3 separate regions of the Homo sapiens genome follow, and regions 2 and 3 are each linked to region 1. Evidence: promoter capture Hi-C in 16 types of primary human blood cells and fetal thymus (Javierre and others, 2016). All regions are on one chromosome and are shown on one strand. The core of a region is centred on a gene start or on the middle of the fragment in contact, and the rest is flanking DNA. Distances in the headings are between cores, read along the strand shown.

Region 1 (2,977 bases), core at 442-2,941:
CCCATGGATACCAATACCAAGGGACTAATTTAGTTGTACCCACCTGAAGGAGTTTTCTATTTTTCACTTCTGGTTTTTTGAGAGACGAGGGTCTCACTATTTTGCCCTGGCTGGCCTTGATCTCCTGGGCTCAAGCAATCCTTCTGCTTCAGCCTCCAAATGTTTTGAGTTTTAAATGTTCACAGAACAATGCTTGGTTGATGGCAAACATTCAATTTTAGGTGTTAGCTAATTTGTTATTGGGCTGAGAATTGAAGATCATAGTTTTATAAATGTTTAAAGAGTTCTTCCTAAGAGCATAAGCAAGGGAACAGAAACAAAACATGTTTGGAGAATAGAGAAGTTTCAGTGGCTGGTGTTTGGGTGGGAGTGAGGAGATGAAGAAGGAGGGACAGGTTGGAATGAATACCTTTATGGGTCTCAATTTCCCACATCTGTGAAATAGAGAAACCGCCCGTAACTGCCATATTTACTTATTCAACAAATGTTTATTGAATACCTATTTACTATGTGCCAGACACCTTTCTAGGAACTGGGAATATAGCTTGAACAGAACACAAAATGTCTTTGCCATTATGAAGTTTATGTTTTTGCGGGAAAAACGGACAAAAATAAAATTGTTAATACGTATCTTGTTATGCTACCTCCACAAAAAAGCAACTGCACAAATAATTACAAAAAGTGCTAAATGATTTGAAGGAAACAGTGATTAAATGGATAAGGTGAGGCGTCGCTGAAGAAGGATTTGTTTGGGAAGGGAAGGAGGTGACATCTGAGCTGAGACCTGAATAACAAGAAGTACGCAAAACTTAGGCGGAACGCGACGTAGGCAGAGGGAACAGAGTGCAAAGACTCGGAGGCTGGGTAGGAAGCGTTTGATGCTGCTGCCGGGTCAAAGCAAAAGCAGAAGACAGTGAGGGAGAGAGCAGTGGAGTCCAATAAAACCTCGACCTCAAGATTGAATTTTATTCTCAGTACAAGGGGTAGAAGGGGAACTCAGCAAACGAGTGGTCTGATTTTATAATTTTGAGATCACTCTGGCGGCGGAATGCAGAACAGATTCGCGAATACGAGAGAATGAGCAAGATGAAACACTTGTCAGTTAGGCCTCCATACTTAAACGCTCTCCGCTGGACATCGCCGCCAGCAAAAACCGACTCCAACCTCTCTCCTGCCAGCGTCAAGGGGAAAACAACAGGAACTGAGCAGAGGCTGCAGCTACTTCGTCCTGAACCCACCCCCAGTTCCCTACACAGCGCAGCTCCCCGTCCTCACCTGCAATTGAAGAAACTAAAGAGGAACACTCAGATATCTGGCCCCTCTTCCTGACTCACACAACCGCCTCTAGTCTTTAGGTTCCATGCCACAGGCTTAAATTGGCGGGAGAACACTAAACCCAACCCCTTTACGGCGGCCGGAAGAGACCAAGATTACTTTAGACTCGAAATAGGAAGTTGCCCCACCCTGAGTTCCGCCCATTCCGTTCTCCCGACTGCGCATTCCGGGGGTGTATTCTTGGCCCCGCCCTCTTCACGGTCTTTACACTCCCCTATGAAAGAACACCCAATCACCGCCTCGAATTGCGTTGTTATAGAAACTTTTGTTACCGCCCCTTTTTCTCCCAGCAAGCTGTGCGACGCGCCGGGCCTCCTCGCCTTTGTGCCATCCGGGTCTCTCGCGCGAGCGATTTAGTCTGAGGCGAAGCTTCGGAGCGGCCGGTACTGTTGAAAGCGACAAGTGGAGGCGCCGCTCTAGCGGCCGGGACTCTGAACTATGGCGGTAGGTACCGAATCTGAGTTTAAAGCCAGGGATATTTTTCTGCTACGTTCCAACAGTGGGTGAACGGCTCCCAGAACCTTGTTCGTGTGTATGTGTGTAGACAAAATGGCGCCGCGGCCTTCTTCTGCGCCCGCCATCATGGCTGCCTGCTGTAGGGAGGGGGAAGTAAGGCGGTGTTGGTGGGGGTGGGGAGCCGCAGGGAGTGCCTTTTTTTTTCCAGAACTTTCCTCCTCTCTTCCCCAACCCTACGTTCCTTTCGCCTCACTGAACTTCCTCCATTTTCGCTTATTCACCCTGGCTAGTGATTTATTCTAAGTTTTTTTTAGGGCCTGAGAATTTGCGGTGGAGAAAGGGGCTGGGGAAGAGAAAGACGATCAGGAGTGGTCTCTGAAAAGTATTGGGTCAAAAAGGCAGTGTCTGTAAAGGGTAGTGTGGGAGAAGAGAGCGACTTGTAGCTATTTTTTTTTTTGTACGCTCAATGAGATGCTTCTAGTTGCATAATTTCAATTAGTGTTCGTCCGTGTAAACCTTATTATTGTGTATTAACGAGCTAGGAAGGTATTGCTGAAAGGGAGTGAAAATTCAACTTAAAAGGTTGTGGAACTACCAATTCTGACTGATGCGCGGTTTCCGAAGTGGCCCGTGATGTAATCAATTTGAAGTCCGAGAAGCGTTACAGTTAAGTCTTGTCACTGACCTTGTTCCTTTAAATTTAAACCCTTCGTTGGCCGGGCGCGGTGGCTCACGCCTGTAATCCCAGCACTTTGGGAGGCCGAGGCGGGCGGATCACGAGGTCAGGAGATCGAGACCATCCCGGCTAAAACGGTGAAACCCTGTCTCTACTAAAAATACAAAAAAATTAGCCGGGCGTAGTGGCGGACGCCTGTAGTCCCAGCTACTTGGGAGGCTGAGGCAGGAGAATGGCGTGAACCCGGGAGGCGGAGCTTGCAGTGAACCGAGATCCCGCCACTGCACTCCAGCCTGGGTGACAGAGCGAGACTCCGTCTCAAAAAAAAAAAAAAAAAAAAAAAAAAAAAAAAAAAAAACTCTTCGTTGACCCCAGAGGAGCTACAGTTCGTAAATTATCTATTCTGAACAATAAGCCTGCGTGTGTATAAGATACCCAATTCTGACGGATCCACATTATTTTGTGCTTACCTCATTTTTATTCCGTTAAAAGGAAAATGTAAAGATTTTG
Region 2 (2,933 bases), core at 282-2,781, 190 kb before region 1:
CCTCTTAGGTCCTGTCACTCTAAGTTTAATTTTACAAAAATGGGGGCTTTAAAAATATCACATACTTAGTGGGGGAGGTTTTGCGTGTGTGGAGACAGAGTGCACAGGACCGTCCGTACTTTCTGCTCAATTTTGCTGTGAATCTAAAACTGCCCTAAAAAATAAAGTTCATTAAAAAAAAAAAATCACGGCCAGGCGCAGTGGCTCACGCCTGTAATCACAGCACTTTGGGAGACCGAGGCGGGTGGATCACAAGGTCAGGAGTTCGAGACCAGCCTGGCCAACACAGTGAAACCTCGTCTTTACTAAAAATACAAAAAATTAGCTGGGCGTGGTGGCGCACGCCTGTAGTCCCAGATACTCAGGAGGCTGAGGCAGAAGAATTGCTTGAACCTGGGAGGCGGAGGTTGCAGTGAGCTGAGATTGTTCCACCGTTCTCCAGCCTGGGTGACAGAGTGAGACTCTGTCTCAAAAAAAAAAAATCACATCCTAAGGTCCCAAGGACATAAAACAAGTTAGAGACCTCATCCAGTTTTTTGTTTGTTTCAGGGACCTGCAACCAACTTTCTTACTGACCAGTTTCCTGGGCTGTCTAGAACAGACAGCTTATGGGGTACTAACCCCATGCTCTATCCTAAGGTACCCCTCTTCATGCAGAGCGACACAGAAAAACAAATTTGTAGCACAAAGTACACCCGATTTGCTACAGCTTACAACTAGCCTCATGAATCCTTTTCTCATTAATTCAAAGTTTGCAAAAAAAAGAAATCACATACTTAAATCACTTGAGCACAGAAGCATATCAAAATCTAATATAAACAAACAAAAAACCCAACTTATTTTAACATGCCACTGAAACTGGGCTCAAGTTTTCAAACATCTTATGAAATATTACACTCTCCAGCAGGCTTTTTTTTTTTTCCTAACTGGAGATGAATGGCAGAGTTCTGATATGGAAAAGCACTCCATGTTTGTACAGAAAGGTAGCATAGGAAAAGTGGTCAAATTCAACCAGTCTGTCCTCATCAAACAGGCAACTACTGTCTTCTCAGCATTTCCAAAAGAAATCATATGCCTGCTACTGTTTATGTCATATGCCTGTTAATTTTTCATGCTAATTCTTAGTGTTTCTGGAAAACCTCACTGTTTGGCACCAAAAATTATTATTGCTATTGTTGTTGTTTTGTTAATTATGTCAGCCAAGCAGATGACGGTGAATTAATTCTGCAACGTTGAGTACTCAGTTGGCATACAAGCACCCAGCCTTCCAAAGGGATGTCCTTCATGTTTCACTGATTTTCGAATGACAGTCAGCTTGCCTAAACTTATCCTTTACATTTAAGACATTTGGTGGGTTCCTGTATGCCCAGGGGATTTTTATTATTTGTTTATGCAAACAGCAGGTTGCATAAGAGCCTTGCTGGCTTTTTTTTTTTTTTTTTTAGAGATTTCGTAGTTTCCTGATAACCATTCAGTCATCTATTTCAACACCCTGACATGACATAAAGGCAGGCACGGAACCACACGTTCACCATACAGACACACGCCACTTTGCTGGAGCATTCACTAGGCGAGGCGCTCCATCGGACTCACTAGCTGCACTCATGAATCGGCACCATCTGCAGGATCACTTTCTGGAAATAGACAAGAAGAACTGCTGTGTGTTCCGAGATGACTTCATTGCCAAGGTGTTGCCGCCGGTGTTGGGGCTGGAGTTTATCTTTGGGCTTCTGGGCAATGGCCTTGCCCTGTGGATTTTCTGTTTCCACCTCAAGTCCTGGAAATCCAGCCGGATTTTCCTGTTCAACCTGGCAGTAGCTGACTTTCTACTGATCATCTGCCTGCCGTTCGTGATGGACTACTATGTGCGGCGTTCAGACTGGAAGTTTGGGGACATCCCTTGCCGGCTGGTGCTCTTCATGTTTGCCATGAACCGCCAGGGCAGCATCATATTCCTCACGGTGGTGGCGGTAGACAGGTATTTCCGGGTGGTCCATCCCCACCACGCCCTGAACAAGATCTCCAATTGGACAGCAGCCATCATCTCTTGCCTTCTGTGGGGCATCACTGTTGGCCTAACAGTCCACCTCCTGAAGAAGAAGTTGCTGATCCAGAATGGCACTGCAAATGTGTGCATCAGCTTCAGCATCTGCCATACCTTCCGGTGGCACGAAGCTATGTTCCTCCTGGAGTTCTTCCTGCCCCTGGGCATCATCCTGTTCTGCTCAGCCAGAATTATCTGGAGCCTGCGGCAGAGACAAATGGACCGGCATGCCAAGATCAAGAGAGCCATCACCTTCATCATGGTGGTGGCCATCGTCTTTGTCATCTGCTTCCTTCCCAGCGTGGTTGTGCGGATCCACATCTTCTGGCTCCTGCACACTTCGGGCACGCAGAATTGTGAAGTGTACCGCTCGGTGGACCTGGCGTTCTTTATCACTCTCAGCTTCACCTACATGAACAGCATGCTGGACCCCGTGGTGTACTACTTCTCCAGCCCATCCTTTCCCAACTTCTTCTCCACTTTGATCAACCGCTGCCTCCAGAGGAAGATAACAGGTGAGCCAGATAATAACCGCAGCACGAGCGTCGAGCTCACAGGGGACCCCAACAAAACCAGAGGCGCTCCAGAGGCGTTAATCGCCAACTCCGGTGAGCCATGGAGCCCCTCTTATCTGGGCCCAACCTCAAATAACCATTCCAAGAAGGGACATTGTCACCAAGAACCAGCATCTCTGGAGAAACAGTTGGGCTGTTGCATCGAGTAATGTCACTGGACTCGGCCTAAGATTTCCTGGAACTTCCAGATTCAGAGAATCTGATTTAGGGAAACTGTGGCAGATGAGTGGGAGACTGGTTGCAAGGTGTGACCGCAGGAATCCTGGAGGAACAGAGAGTAAAGCTTCTAGGCATCTGAAACTTGCTTCATCTCT
Region 3 (2,700 bases), core at 41-2,540, 230 kb before region 1:
GCCACCGCGCCCGGCCTTTTGTTTTTATGTTTAAGGTTTAGAATGGAGTAGTTCAGTGTGTCCAATATCCTGAGATTTCTCAGGGAGAGGAAGGTGGTATACCATGTAGTCACAGCAATTACTACACACTGGGCACCTAGTATGTGCCAAATGTTTTGCTATGCCTTATATACATTATTATGTTTAGTTATCACAACCTTGTAAGATAAGTACCATATCTATATTCAGATGATGAAACTGAGGCTTAGAGTACATAACCACTTGCATCTGGATAACAGGATTTGAATCTGCCTGTTTCTGACGCTCATGCTATTAACCACTAACTTAGGTTACACAAAGTAAACAAGCAACTTAGTGGCACCTGACAGCTGAAAATGATCTGCCTTCACCTCACCCTACTAACATTCTAACATGCTACCACACAATCACTATTTTACAGATGGGGCACTAAAAGAGTTAAACAGCTCATACAATGACAAAGGTGGTATGTGGCAGAAGAAAACTGGAATCCATTGGTTTTGTCCAGTCTAGTCTATTATAGTTTAGGGTTATTTCCACCAAAGATCTCTCTGGTTAGCTACAGCCCTATATTCCTCACAATTCAAGTTCAAATACTAGGCATAGTTGTTCAGCCACACTTTCAGGATATAACTATACAATTATTGGTTAAACACCATCACAGCAAATACTAAAGCTACAAATTTTGTATACTATTTCAAATAATATTTAGTTCAGAAAAAAAAAAAAATTGGGGTTTTGCTCTGTTGCCCAGGCTGGAGTGCAATGGCACCATCTCAGCTGGCTGCAACCTCTACCTCCTGGGTCCAAGTGATTCTCGTAGCTCAGCCTCCCGAGTAGCTGGGATTACAGGTGTGCACCACCACACCCAGCTAATTTTTGTATTTTTAGTAGAGACAGGGTTTTGCCATGTTGGCCAGGCTGGTCTTGAACTCCTGGCCTCAAGTGATCTGCCTGCCTTGGCCTCAGCCTCCCAAAGTGCTGTGATTACAGGTGTGAGCCACTGTGCCTGGCCCGGTTCAGCAAAATTCTAATGCAATAAAAAAATTGGGGGAGCTCCTTTAAGTTCACCATTATTTGCTTTAAAAAAGTCAATTTCTCTTTACAGATCACTTACTTATTTGGAAAGGGAAAACTGTACCTTTTCAATGCAAACATTTAGCCGTCACCTTCAAACTTAGCATCACTAATAGTGAAACATCTGACATTATGAGCTCTTGATGCAATGCAACATGATGAATGAAACATCATCCACGAAACTTTCTTGCCAAAATCTGTTTAACTTGAATCTAATTAAGCCTCTAGGCCGGGTGTGGTGGCTCACGTCTACAATCCCAGCACTTTGGGAGGCCGAGGTGGTGGATCACCTGAGGTCAGGAGTTCAAGACCAGCCTGGCCAACATGGTGAAACCCCATCTCTACTAAAAATACAAAAATTAGCCGGGTGTGGTGGCGCACACCTGTAGTCCCAGCTACTCAGAAGGCTGAGGCAGGAGAATCGCTTGATCCTGGGACGCAGAGGCTGCAGTGAGCTGAGACTGCCACTGCACTCCAGCCTGGGCAACAGGGCAAGACTCCAACTCAAAAAAAAAATAAATAAATAAAAAATTAAGCCTCTAGACTCCAGCTTCTTTTTTTTTGTTAAAGAGACAGTCTCACTTTGTCACCCAGGCTATAGTGCAGTGATGTGATCTTAACTCATGCAGCCTTGAACTCCTGGGCTTAAGTGTTCCTTCCACTACAGCCTCCGAGTAGCTGGAACTACAGGCACTTGCCACCACACCTGGCTAATTTATTTAATTTTTTGTAGAGGCAGGGTCTCACTATGTTGCCCAGGCTGGTCTCAAACTCCTGAGCTCAGATGATCTGCCTGCCTCGGCCTCCCAAAGTGTTGGAATTAAAGGTGTGAGCCACTGTGCCTGGCCAAATGAGCAAAGTTACCACCACATGGAAACATGGAATGGGACTAATCCACAGCCAGGTACCTCTTGATAAAATGCACTGAAATTAACAGCACTTCTGTGGTGGTCTTGGCACAAGATCATAAACTAAATCTAGTCTTAAGAACACATCAGAATGGCCGGGTCTGGTGGCTCACGCCTGTAATCCCAACACTTTGGGAGGCCGAGGCGGGTGGATCACAAGGTCAGGAGTTCAAGACCAGCCTGGCCAAGATGGTGAAACCTCATCTCTACTAAAAATACAAAAATCAGCCAGGCACGGTGGCAGGCGCCTGTAATCTCCGCTACTCGGGAGGCTGAACCAGGAGAATCACTTGAACCCTGGAGGCGGAGGTTGCAGTGAGCCGAGATCACGCCATTACACTCCAGTCTGGGCAACAGAGTGAGACTCCTTCTGAAAAACAAACAAACAAAAACTGCCTTTCTATAACAGAGAATGAACAGCCACAATCAGCTTCCTGAAAGTCAATATTTTCAATTACAAATTTCGCTGTCAACAGTCACCAAAATCACTAACTTTGCACACAGTGTCACTAAGCCTCAATCATCTCATACTTTAAAGTCTTCTAAATTTGGGGAGGAGGGTGGAAAAGATTAAAATAAAAATAAAGTCTCCTAAACTTGATTTCTGTGGCCAGTTTCAACCCATTTCAGGCACTTCCTCCTTCCTTCCAAACAGTTATTATCCAAAAAGATATAACCAATCACATCACTTCCCAGA

The links. Contacts are between HindIII fragments. The CHiCAGO score rates a contact against its expected background, and 5 or more counts as called.
Region 2: a contact is called between the fragment with the promoter of HCAR3 here and the fragment with the promoter of RSRC2 in region 1, in 1 of 17 cell types (endothelial precursors). The highest score is 6.3, in endothelial precursors.
Region 3: a contact is called between a fragment that was not itself captured here and the fragment with the promoter of RSRC2 in region 1, in 1 of 17 cell types (endothelial precursors). The highest score is 8.0, in endothelial precursors.

Annotation. Positions count from the first base shown.
Region 1 is chr12:122,525,650-122,528,626 of GRCh38, reverse strand. RSRC2 (arginine and serine rich coiled-coil 2) reads left to right here and starts at 1,691. Exons shown (of 10, transcript NM_023012.6): 1 at 1,691-1,779. The coding sequence starts at 1,774. KNTC1 (kinetochore associated 1) reads right to left here and starts at 1,378. Exons shown (of 64, transcript NM_014708.6): 1 at 1,276-1,378. RefSeq lists an enhancer at 1,552-2,011. The HindIII fragment of the contact is 2,543 bases long and covers 1-1,706 here.
Region 2 is chr12:122,715,409-122,718,341 of GRCh38, reverse strand. It overlaps HCAR3 (hydroxycarboxylic acid receptor 3), which reads left to right and starts at 1,531. Exons shown (of 1, transcript NM_006018.3): 1 at 1,531-2,933. The coding sequence starts at 1,605. The coding sequence ends at 2,768. The HindIII fragment of the contact is 15,173 bases long and covers 1-2,904 here.
Region 3 is chr12:122,757,766-122,760,465 of GRCh38, reverse strand. All of the region lies in intron 2 of DENR (density regulated re-initiation and release factor), which reads right to left. Among named protein-coding and RNA genes, the nearest start is that of DENR, 6.3 kb to the right of the region's middle. The HindIII fragment of the contact is 3,240 bases long and covers 1-2,700 here.